Regions from separate parts of the Homo sapiens genome. Here regions 2, 3 and 4 are each linked to region 1. The links are contacts of gene promoters, found by promoter capture Hi-C in human tissues and cell types (Jung and others, 2019). All regions are on one chromosome and are shown on one strand. The core of a region is centred on a gene start or on the middle of the fragment in contact, and the rest is flanking DNA. Distances in the headings are between cores, read along the strand shown.

The links. The method cuts DNA at HindIII sites, captures the fragments that hold promoters and counts their contacts. A contact is called where the count stands out against the background at its distance.
Region 2: a contact is called between a fragment that was not itself captured here and the fragment with the promoter of FCN2 in region 1, in 3 of the 25 tissues and cell types used here (lymphoblastoid cells, spleen and thymus).
Region 3: a contact is called between a fragment that was not itself captured here and the fragment with the promoter of FCN2 in region 1, in 2 of the 25 tissues and cell types used here (mesendoderm cells and thymus).
Region 4: a contact is called between a fragment that was not itself captured here and the fragment with the promoter of FCN2 in region 1, in 3 of the 25 tissues and cell types used here (dorsolateral prefrontal cortex, spleen and thymus).

What each region holds. Positions count from the first base shown.
Region 1 is chr9:134,879,384-134,882,083 of GRCh38, forward strand. It overlaps FCN2 (ficolin 2), which reads left to right and starts at 1,427. Exons shown (of 8, transcript NM_004108.3): 1 at 1,427-1,538. The coding sequence starts at 1,439. The HindIII fragment of the contact is 19,799 bases long and covers 1-2,700 here.
Region 2 is chr9:134,960,202-134,962,901 of GRCh38, forward strand. No RefSeq gene overlaps it. Among named protein-coding and RNA genes, the nearest start is that of FCN1, 44 kb to the left of the region's middle. The HindIII fragment of the contact is 9,903 bases long and covers 1-2,700 here.
Region 3 is chr9:134,980,107-134,982,806 of GRCh38, forward strand. No RefSeq gene overlaps it. Among named protein-coding and RNA genes, the nearest start is that of FCN1, 64 kb to the left of the region's middle. RefSeq lists an enhancer at 2,382-2,700. The HindIII fragment of the contact is 4,934 bases long and covers 1-2,700 here.
Region 4 is chr9:134,801,939-134,804,718 of GRCh38, forward strand. COL5A1 (collagen type V alpha 1 chain) reads left to right here. Exons shown (of 66, transcript NM_000093.5): 38 at 16-69; 39 at 950-1,057. Among named protein-coding and RNA genes, the nearest start is that of MIR3689C, 46 kb to the right of the region's middle. RefSeq lists an enhancer at 2,735-2,780. The HindIII fragment of the contact is 5,990 bases long and covers 1-2,780 here.

The DNA.
Region 1 (2,700 bases), core at 177-2,676:
GAAAGATGCTTCTATTAGGAAGGACAAATAGCATGCAGTAAAGGAACCTGCCTAAGGACTCGGAATTTTGGCTGCTGGGGTTTCACTGGGCAGCTCTGGGGACCTGGCTCCTCTGCAGGTGACTTCAGGACTTTGAGGAAGATGCCCCCAAGCCATCTTTCTAGGTTCCATATCTGCATCTCCATGGAGCCTGTGTCTTCCCCAGGTTCATCCCTGGACCTCATCTGCATCTGGCATAGCCTTAATTAAGTCTTGAGAGGTCTGCCCTAAACACCACGGAACCCGAGGGGGGTCTTAACTAGTCATAGTCTCAGGACCACACATCTCCATGGGCATTGAAGGAAAATCCGATGGGATTTTGTTTCTCGCGTGGCTTTGCTGGGCTGGGGTCACAGTTTAAAATCCTTCTACTGATCTTGCCAAGGAAGAAGGCACCTCGGCATCCCGATGGCAGCAGGTGGCAGGGTGCGGTGGTGGTAGTGGGAGGTGCAGTGCTGGTTCCGTCTCTGGGGGCTTTAGGTATACGGCCTCTGGGGCCCCACCTGCTACTGTCTCTGTCTCTAACCTGGCTCAGTCCAAGGCGAGAGTGCACCTTCAGGCCAGCTCTTCTCCAAAAGGCGAACACAACCACTGAAGTAAGTCCACAGCCATCCTACAGGTGGGATGTCTGGCCTCAGGGCTCAGGGGGTTCCCTGGGCCCTAGGAGTGAAATTCACCTACTCTCATCCTCCCTACAGGCTAAGCCCCTGCATTCACACTCAAGGTCTCCCCTTCAGATGTGTACCTGGGTCATAGTCCCCCAGGCTCCCCACTCTTCTCTCCTTTCCCTCCTGTTCATGTGCCCCTGTGCTCTACATACTGCCCCAGGAAACAGTGGACACACACGCATTTTCCTCTCCTTTTCACCCTGGCAGCCTGCCTGGACCTCATAGTGGCAGTTTCCAAGCCTCCTGAGGAGAGTCCCAAGTCTGCTCATGATGTGGTGAGGGTTACTGTGTAAGGCCCACACCAGTGGCCCATGACCAGCCCTGGCCATGAGGACTCTAGGTATTCGGATAAGGGAGAGAGACCTCTTTGAAGCAGAACATCTTTAGCAAACCCTTCCTTGTTCCCCGTTCTCAGCTCATGGTGACATCTGCTCACCGCTGAACAAAGGTGGGAGGATGGGCCTGGGCTCTTTGCCCAAGGCCACAAGCAAGTCAGCCTGTTCCCTGGAAGGAGACCGTCCCCCTGCAGGGATGACAGTCGCCATGGGATCCCCAAGGGGCGGGGGGTAGGGAGCAGCCCTGGAGATGATCTCGCACCTCCTGCTGGCGTCACCAAGCCCGCGGAGAGGAAGCGGCTGTCACTCGGAAGATGAGAAATTGGAGTCTGAGGGAGGCTGGCTTCTCTAGCCCTATAAGAGGGCAGGCACCTTTTGAAGCAAAGACCAGAAGAGATGGAGCTGGACAGAGCTGTGGGGGTCCTGGGCGCTGCCACCCTGCTGCTCTCTTTCCTGGGCATGGCCTGGGCTCTCCAGGCGGCAGACACCTGTCCAGGTAAGGGCACTCCAGGGCCTCCTCCTGGAAACTTCTCGTCCCTGAAAGCTGGCAGCTTCGTGATTGGTGGCTTCCTGGCTTCCAGGCCTTGCACCAGGCCGTGTGGAGCATCGTCTAACGAGACAGCAGCTCTGCATGCCTCATCTTATGTGAACAAACGCAGAGGCCCCGAATGGATGTGGCATCTCAGAGACGGAGCTTCCTCTGCTTGCCCTCCCATAATGGAAACCGAGGCAGGTTTCCAGTCTCCCTGGGCCACATGTCCCCCTCTAAGCGTAAAAAGCGTAGTCATGGTGTTGTGTGGGGAGGTGAGGCTTGTGGTGCCAGCTGGGTAGACACCAGTCAGATATTCTGCCATGGTCGCCATCACAGAGAGACAGGGTGTGAGGTGGGGATAAGCACCCGGAAAGACAGGGTGTCAGGCGGGGATGAGCACTGCAGGACCTTTCCATCCAGGACCTGCTGGGCTCTGGAGATGGCAGTTCCCATGGTGTCCCTGATGCGGCACAATAAGGGTGGCATTGTCCCCGTGAGTTCTGGACCTCCTTCGGGGCTCCCGAGGGGACACTCGGGTGCCAAACCATGGGCTCCGGCGCATGCGAGGGCAGGTTGAAAATGCAGGTTCTGGAGTCAGGTCCTGACTCCGTCTACCCGGGGCTGGGATGCAGGGTCAGGAATTTGTGATGCTCCTGATGCTTGCAGAGATTCGTGTCAGGATTTCTGGAATGCATGTGAGACACAGAGCTCTGCGGTGTGCTGTGACTAGCATCGCATTCAAGGAGCAATCCGTGGCGTGAAGTGTGACACAGGCCAGGAACAGCGGGGATTCGCTTGGAAACTCCTAGTGGCTCGTTGTGGAGTGGTGGGGTTAGGGTGGCATTATTTTCTTCCTTAAATACTTCTAGAGTTTCTAAATGATCAAATAATAGCACGTGTTATTTTTGTAACACACTCACTTGAATTTGAGTTATCTAATTAAAAACAACAAGCTGCATTCCAGCTCTAGTTTCGCACCAACTTGTTCAGTGTCCTTGAAGGACGCCTCCCTCTGTGGAGGAACAAGGTGGACCCACAGGAGCCCATCCACTCTCAGATCTGCTCCAAGATCAGGCGTGGGAGTTGCAATGGTAGCCTCTCTCCCTGTGTCCTTCTCACCCGATAT
Region 2 (2,700 bases), core at 49-2,548, 81 kb after region 1:
GCTAGCTTGGGCGGGACCTGAGTGCCAGCTGGGTGGCCAGAGGTGGGCGAATTTAAGGCAGATGGCAAAGCCATTCCCACCCCAGGGCCACTGGTCGGCACAGCTGGGCACAGCCCACCACCTGCCAGACCTTTCAGAGGGAATGCATCTCCCTCCAAGCCAGGTCCCAGCTGGGATCTTCCAGCTGAAGAGGTTTCCTTGGGCAGAAGCGAGAAGCGAATTGGAAGAAAGAGGCCCTGACCCTCCAGGAGGCTCCATTCTGCCTGTGGCCCTGAAAAAAGAGAGCAGGAAGGAGCAACTCTCACTTCTTCACAGCGACTTTGAGAAGTGGAAGACAGGGGCCGCTCCCCGGCTACAAACAAGAAGCCGATGGAAACCAACACCGTCCCCTCCAGCCTCATCTCCTCGCTCTTCAGAGTTTGCAGGGAGATGCATCACGAAGGCCCATGAAGCTGTAAAGATTAGTATTCCAACCCGGGCAGCAGGGTTTTAATTAGTCATTAGGCCCTTTCTGCAGAGCCATGCTGAACAGGCAAGGGCAGGGTGACCTTTCTCCGCCCAGCACTGTGGCAGCCTGTCTGCTTTGCAGGTGCACTTGGGACTCTGTCAAAACCGCTAAGAGGAGAGGACTGAGGCTGGGCCGGGAAGGAGGCCCTAGCCTCTCTGTTCCTGGGCATGGCCCCCACCACGGGGGCACTGCAGACCTTTGCTCCCATCTGGCTCTAGCTCACAGCTTGCACCCCTCATCCACAAGGGACACAGACAGTTGCTCACGTGATGGCTCTCCTAGCGAGCCCACGGGCAACGCCAGGAACAAGCCACCCAGGAGTTGAAGCACTTCCCTGGTGTGTGTGATGGGAGAGGGGAGGGAGCCGGCTTCCTGCAGCCAGTCCCCGCCGGATTCCAGGAAGGCGAGCGAACCCCTGCGGAAGGTCGGTTCTCAGCCAGGCATCTGGGACCCCCCTGCCAAGTTGCCCCTTCTTGGCCAAATGTCACCACATACCATAAAATCACAGAGAACCTTCCAGCTTGCCTGCCTTAGAAGCCAACCCTCCCAACCTCCTGGTTTCTCGAGGACAGTGAGGCCAAGAGCAGCTGCAACCAGGGGCGTGCAGAGGCCGGTGGCTGAGCTGGGGCCAGGACCCTGGACTATGGCTGTCTATTTACAACCCAAAATAAAACGCTAATTGCCACCAGCACCTGCTGACAAAGATTTCAAATCAGTGTCCTCACGAGGACTTCTCCTGGGGCTTCCTGCCAAGCTCATGATGTGCTTCTATCCAGTGGGTCAGCAGGCCCCGGTGTCTGAGGGCACAGCATTTCTTTCTGCCACTGCTCCGGATTATCTGCCCCAGTCTGGCCCCTCGGCTCCTGCCTCACCCACAGTGCCCCCAGGCCTCCCTCCCGTGGGCTGTTCGGCTCCTGTCTCCCACCTTCTCTCCACCTTGGCAGCCGTCCATGGCCACAGGCTTGCACCCGGGTCTTGCACTGAACGTCAACTCAGGTGCGAGGCTTTCCTTCCCAGCTTCACTGCAAACACTGCAGGCAGGCCTTGGGGTCATCTGGCTCAGCACACCACAGGGACCCCACTAGCTCTTATCCGCTGTATGGGGGTCCCATAGCCATGGGCTGGGCACTTCATAGGAAATGGACGTCTGTGACCTCCAAGGGGTTACAGACACACCCTCCGAGGGGAGGTGACAGAATGGCTGGAAGTCGCCACCACGATCACAGCCCGGAGCCACTGTGGGGACCTTGGTGCGTGTGCCCCGTTCGTGTTGTCACCAGTGCAGGTGCCCTGCACCTCCGCCTCTCAGGAGCAGCCACCCAGCTACAGTCTGAGCAATTGCACATCTGGCTCACTGCAGTTCCTTGTATGACAGCAAGGACAATGTAACAGGTTTCATGCCTTCTTGTCTGTGCTGTTAGTTCCTGATGCCAAGCCCTTCCCAGGAGGCTGAGGATCAGGCGGACTCTCAGGCCAGCAGCAGCAAGGTAGGAAGTCCTCCTGCCCCAGATGCCTCCAGCCTGCAGACTTCATAATAAATGGGAGGTTGGCTTTCCCAGCCAAAGCCATAAACTTTAATTGGGCTTTTTAAAGACCACAAAAGCAAATATATGCCCTTAAAGAAACCCTTTGGTAACTTGCTCAGAACATAAAGGTGACTATTAGCATGTGCTGATTTGAAATACCAAGAAGAAAATATCTCCCACATCAACATATGCTAGTGTAAGGCATGTCCTGTTTTGCATAGCTCTCACGGTTCCCCACCCTAACACTAGGGCCCGCCTGTCCTAGAGGGCAGCATGCTTGAAATCAGAAGACTGCATTTGGCCTGGCTCCACATGCCCCTTAACATTGTTCTTTTTTGTTTTCTTTGAGACAGGGCCTGTCGCCCAGGCTGGAGTGCAGTGGTGTAATCTTGGCTCACCACAACCTCCACCTCTCAGCAACCTCCGCCCCCCAGCAACCTCCACCTCCCGGCAAACTCCACCTCCTGGGTTCAAGCCATTCTTGTGTCTCAGCCTCCCGAGTAGCTGGGATTATAGGCATACGCCACCACACCCGGCTAGTTTTTGCATTTTTAGTAGAGAGAGAGTTTTGCCATGTTGGCCAGGCTGTTCTCGAACCCCTGACCTCAAGTGAGCCACCCACCTCGGCCTCCCTAAGTGCTGGGATTACAGCCATGAGTCACCGCG
Region 3 (2,700 bases), core at 168-2,667, 100 kb after region 1:
AATAACTCCGCAATTCCCAAGCCGTGGTGAATAAAAAGGATATTTGAAGTTAGCAGCAATGGCTACCTCGAGAGATCAAAGATCTGTGGTTTTCCCTGTGCACAAAGTCGCATGTACTGTGGTCGTCTATAAGCATTATCGAGAGAAATGACGGATGATCAGAAATTTATTTTTAAAAACTGCAACGTGTTTTCCATCTAAATTCACAGACCCAAGGGTAAAACCCCTGTTAGAGGCACCAGGCTGTAACCTCCATGCCCAGGCCAGTCTGCCTGGAGATGCGGGGCGGTGTCCGGAAAGCTGCAGGTATCGGCATCTGGAAATGACCCTGTATCTGAGGGGTGAAGTCAGCCCAGCGCAAGGCCTTGCACCTGGGGAGAGAGCCAGACAAAACCTTCCACCTTCCAGTGAAGAATAAAAACAACCCAGCTGTGTGATCCAGGGCATTTGCCGACTCCATAATTAACGAGGTGGGGGAGGCACCTTCTCAGCCTCTGCTGGAGGTGACATGGTGGGAGCTGGGTGGCCGGGGGGCAGGTGGGGGTGCCGGCGCAGAGGAGCTGAGGTTGAGCCTAGAATCTCAGCGACTTAGGAGATCCCAGGAGCCAGCCCTGGGAGAAAGGGGCCTTCCCAGGCCAGGGCCTCTCCTGGCACTTGCTGCCAGCAGGAGTGCCAGCTGACACTCTCCTGTGTGCACAGCAACTCAGCAAGGTGTACCCAGCCCTTAAAAACGCTCATCCTCTCAGCCAGCGAGTCCTCCTTCACAGCGACTATCCAAAGCAAGTAACCATGTGTAGGAGAACCTGTCTGCATTGCTCACTTGGGAAAAACAGCAAGACAGATTGTATTCAAGCCACTGGAGTAAGTGAAGGACTTTAGAACCAAGCTCAGTTCAGACGCAGTGAAGACAGCTGTGGATGCCCAGCCCACGAGCAGAGTGAGGGTCCGGGCTGGAAACCACTCACCTGGTTAGACACCAAGGGCAGGAGTTCCTGTTAAAGGCAGGCCGAGGATTTAGACATTGATGGTCAGGGGCGAGGAATCTGATCCAATGCAAAGGATGGGAGGGTTCTCAGTATAACAAGACTCAGCCAGCCATGGACACGAAGGCCAAGGTCAAGGCCTAGTTGAGACGGGGCTCAGCCCAGGCTCGCAGTGGGTCACGGAGGGAATCTGTGCCAGTCAGTTGCCTGCCCACAAAGGCTCACCACAAACCATGCTGGTCCCTCCGTGGGAGGATGGTTATACAGGGAGAATGATGATTATACAGGGAGGAGGGCCAGTGAGAGAATAATGGTTATACAGGGAGGTGGGATGGCGACAGGATGATGGTTATACAGGGAGAAGGGACGGCAAGAGGATGATGGTTACACAGGGAGGAGGGATGGCGAGAGGAAGATGATGGTTATACAGGGAGGAGGGATGGTGAGAGGATGATGGCTACACAGGGAGGAGCGACAGCGAGAGGACGACGGTTATACAGAGAGGAGGGATCGTAAGAGGAAGATGATGCTTATACAGGGAGGAGGGATGGCTAGAGGATAATGATGGTTACACAAGCGGGATGGCGAGATGATGATGGCTATACAGGTAGGAGGGATGGTGAGAGGAAGATGATGGTTATACAGGGAGGAGGGATGGTGAGAGGAAGATGATGGTTACACAGGGAGGAGGGACGGCAAGAGGATGATGATGGTTACACAGGGAGGAGGGACGGCAAGAGGATGATGATGGTTACACAGGGAGGAGGGATGGTGAGAGGAAGATGATGGTTACACAGGGAGGAGGGACGGCAAAAGGATGATGATGGTTACACAGGGAGGAGGGACGGCAAGAGGATGATGATGGTTACACAGGGAGGAGGGATGGTTATACAGGGAGAAGGGATGGCGACAGGATGATGGCTATACAGGCAGGAAGGATGGCGAGAGGAAGATGATGGTTACACAGGGAGGAGGGACGGCGAGAGGATGATGGTTATACAGGGAGGAGGGATGGCAAGAGGATGATGGCTATACAGAGAGGAGGGACAGCGAGAGGGTTATGATGGCTACACTGGGAGGAGGGACGGCGGGAGGACGATGATGGTTATACAGGGAGGAAGGATGGCGAGATAATGATCATTCCACGGGGAGGACGGACAGTGAGAGGATGGTGGTTATACAAGGAGGGCAGTAGGAGCTGCGTTTTCTTTTAAATTATCTAAATGTTTAAATTTATCTTTTTTAAAAAATTAAGAGAAATTATTTAAATGACAGGCAGCTGCTCAAAGATTCCACTGAAGTGGAAGGGTGCCCCCATCTTTACAGCAGAACGAAGGAATCCTGCACATCAGGGCTGGGTGGGCTGTGGCTGGAGAGTCAGGCTGGCTAGGCCAGGAGAGGCTCAGGATAGCCGTCCGCAGCCAGCACCCTCGTGCTGGTGCCTTGGACTGTGCGTCCTCACAAACAGCCGAATCCTGCCTTGTTCCTTTCCCAGGGCTGTTGTAGCAAAAGACCATGAATGAGGGGCCTTCAACCCCCAGGAATTCCTTCCCTTGCTGCCCAGAGGCCGGGAGCTCAACATCCAGGTCAGTGGGGCGTCACCCCAGTCTCTGCTGCCATCTTCCGCGTGTGTCTCCGGAACCCCCTTCCCCTCCTAAGGCCACCCCCCCTCAGTACAACCTCATCTCAACCTGACTACACCTGAAAGACCCTGTTT
Region 4 (2,780 bases), core at 1-2,500, 78 kb before region 1:
ACTCTCTCTTCACAGGGTTTCCAAGGCAAGACCGGCCCTCCAGGCCCCCCCGGCGTGGTCGGCCCTCAGGTAAGCTCCAGCCTTCCCAGATTCCATGGGTCACTCGGTGTCACTTGCCCACAGGGAAGAGGGTCCCAGCCCGGGCATCTGTTCCCTCCACGATTCCGGAGGTGCAGGTACTGCTGAGAGGTTATCTTAGGTCCTGAATGTTGGTCAGCGTGAGGCTCGCCCCACGCAGGAGCAAGCACAGATGTGTTTGCCCTCAACACAAACCCAACACGCAGGGCAAGGAAGGCTGCCCAAGGCTCACAGGGTGGCTGGGGCCAGACCTGGGCCAGCTCAGGAGCTGGGCTCATCCCTGCTGTGGGTGTCCAAGGCAGCCGAGTCCTCCTGCCACTGGTCCCTGTGGGTGTCACGGGCCTGCGATTCTAACCGCAGACCAGTGGCAGATCAGTGTCAGGGGCAGCTTAGAGCCAGGATTGATGGCTTAGAGCTGCAGAACGGGGAGGGGTCACCTTGTGTCCTAGAAAGCGCACACCTCATGTAGCGGTGAGTAAGACGTAGACCTGCTGCAGCCACAGAACTGAAGGGCATGTGGGCTCTGCCCCTGGTGTGGCTTTTCTCCCATCCTTGGCCTGTCCTGTGGCTGAATCAGCCTCCCTCAGGGCACATCCCAGGAAGGCAGGCTTGGCCGTGCCTCCTGAAGGCGCCAGGTGGGGGAAGAGGGCCACGCGGGGCCCAGCAGATGCCAGGCAGTGAGCAGCGTACCAACACCCACCCTCTAGATTTTTGCCGGGAAGAGAAGGCTTGCAAAGGCACTTGGAGGTTTGGTGTGCCCGCAGCAGACCTTTGCGTCCATGACCAGGGCTGTCCTTAGATTTAGGAAGAGATTCTCACTCCCTTGCAAGTCACTCGAAACGTCTGTGGCTGACACTGATTTTCCCCACAGGGTCCCACGGGAGAAACGGGCCCAATGGGTGAGCGTGGCCACCCTGGGCCCCCTGGACCCCCCGGTGAACAGGGGCTTCCGGGCCTTGCTGGAAAAGAAGGGACGAAGGTGAGTTTCTGGAGCCTTCTGTGTCAGCTCAGGCGTTTCCTCAGGAATCATTTTGGGACTTTGTGTTTTTCTTGCCCTTTTCTGATGAATGGGTAATTCGTCAAACAGACGCTTCTCATGCCGGTTCACTCCCCAGACCGCACGTTTTGCTCACTTTTCCTTGATTCACTCCAGGAGTCGCGCTGACCTGCTCAGGGATGGGCTTGAAGGGGGAGCGCAGGGGTCACCACCATCCTCCACCCTCTGCTCTCTCCCCAGCTGCCAGCCCTGCTCCCAGAAATGGATAAAAAGCTCTGGGACTTCATGTGTCCATAACACGTTTAGCAGAAAGTGGTCCTTTTAAAAACCCCTCACCCCAGCCAGGTGCAGTGGCTCACGCCTGTAATCCCAGCACTTTTGGAGGCTGAGGCAGGTGGATCACCTGAGGTCAGGAAGTTGAGACCAGCCTGGCCAACATGACGAAACCCCATCTGTACTAAAAATACAGAAATTAGCTGGGTGTGGTGGTGCGCACCTGTAATCCCACCTACTTGGGAGGCTGAGGCAGGAGAATCGCTTGAACCCGGGAGGCGGAGGTTGCAGTGTGCCAAGATCGTGCCAGTGCACTCCAGCCTGGTTAACACAAATGAAACTCTGTTTTTAAAAACAAAAAACAAAAAACACAGTGAAACCCCGTTTCTACTAAAAATACAAAAAAATTAGCTGGGTGTGGTGGCGGGCGCCTGTAGTCCCAGCTACTCGGGAGGCTGAGGCAGCAGAATGGTGTGAACTCGGGGGGCGGAGCTTGCAGTGAGCCGAGATCGCGCCACTGCACTCCAGCCTGGGCGACAGAGCGAGACTCCATCTCAAAAAAAAGAAAAAAAAACAGCCCTCACCCCAAGAGCCTGAGAAATTATAAAAGTGAAAAGCAAACGTGTTTTTATCCCACCTCTTGGTGCCAGCTCCAACTGCCCCCTTTTCATATCTCCTCCCCTGGGCGCCCCAGGTTCACTGGCCATAACTTGCTGTGTTAGCACAAAAATAGCCCTTCCCTTTCAGCTCTTCAATAAGGAATGCAACAAAGGCAAGCTCTCCAGCCTGTAGGACCACAGAAGAGTAAACCTGAAAAATAATAAAGTGAAGCAAATGAAGAAATACTGAAAAAAATCACACACCCGGGTGTGCATGTAGATATAGGAATAAATACACATGTGTACATGCACACGTGTGTGTATTCTAGACACAAAGAGAGCTCTCCGAGCTTGGAAAGGCGGCCACGGGCATTTGACCTGCTCGTTTGAAAACAGCACTGTGCTCCATGTTGGACCCCAGAGAACATTTTGGAAGATATCAAAGCTTTACTGTACCTCAGGGAAAGTCGAGGCTAAGGGGTGACTTTTTTTCAGAAAATGTGGTTTCGGGCTTGAAGAAGTTCCTTAAGTGATAAGTCCATTTAGGACGATGCTTTTAATGCTATTTCGACCATGGATTTCTTTGTCTGAGCACGGTCTTACAAGGAGCCCCAAATCTATGGAAAAGATAGACGTGCCCTCAGCTCCCACATGGCCCATCGTAGCCCTTAAGGGCCTTGGGAGGAAGGACCCCGGAACTCCGTGGAGCAGGGGTAGAGTCAGATTTGCACGCAGAGCCCGCCAGATGAGCGTGGCTTCCAGGTGGAGGCTCAGGCTGTGCTCCCACGTGTGGGCTGCTGAGTCCAGTCACGACTCTGAAAAGTGGCCAGGAG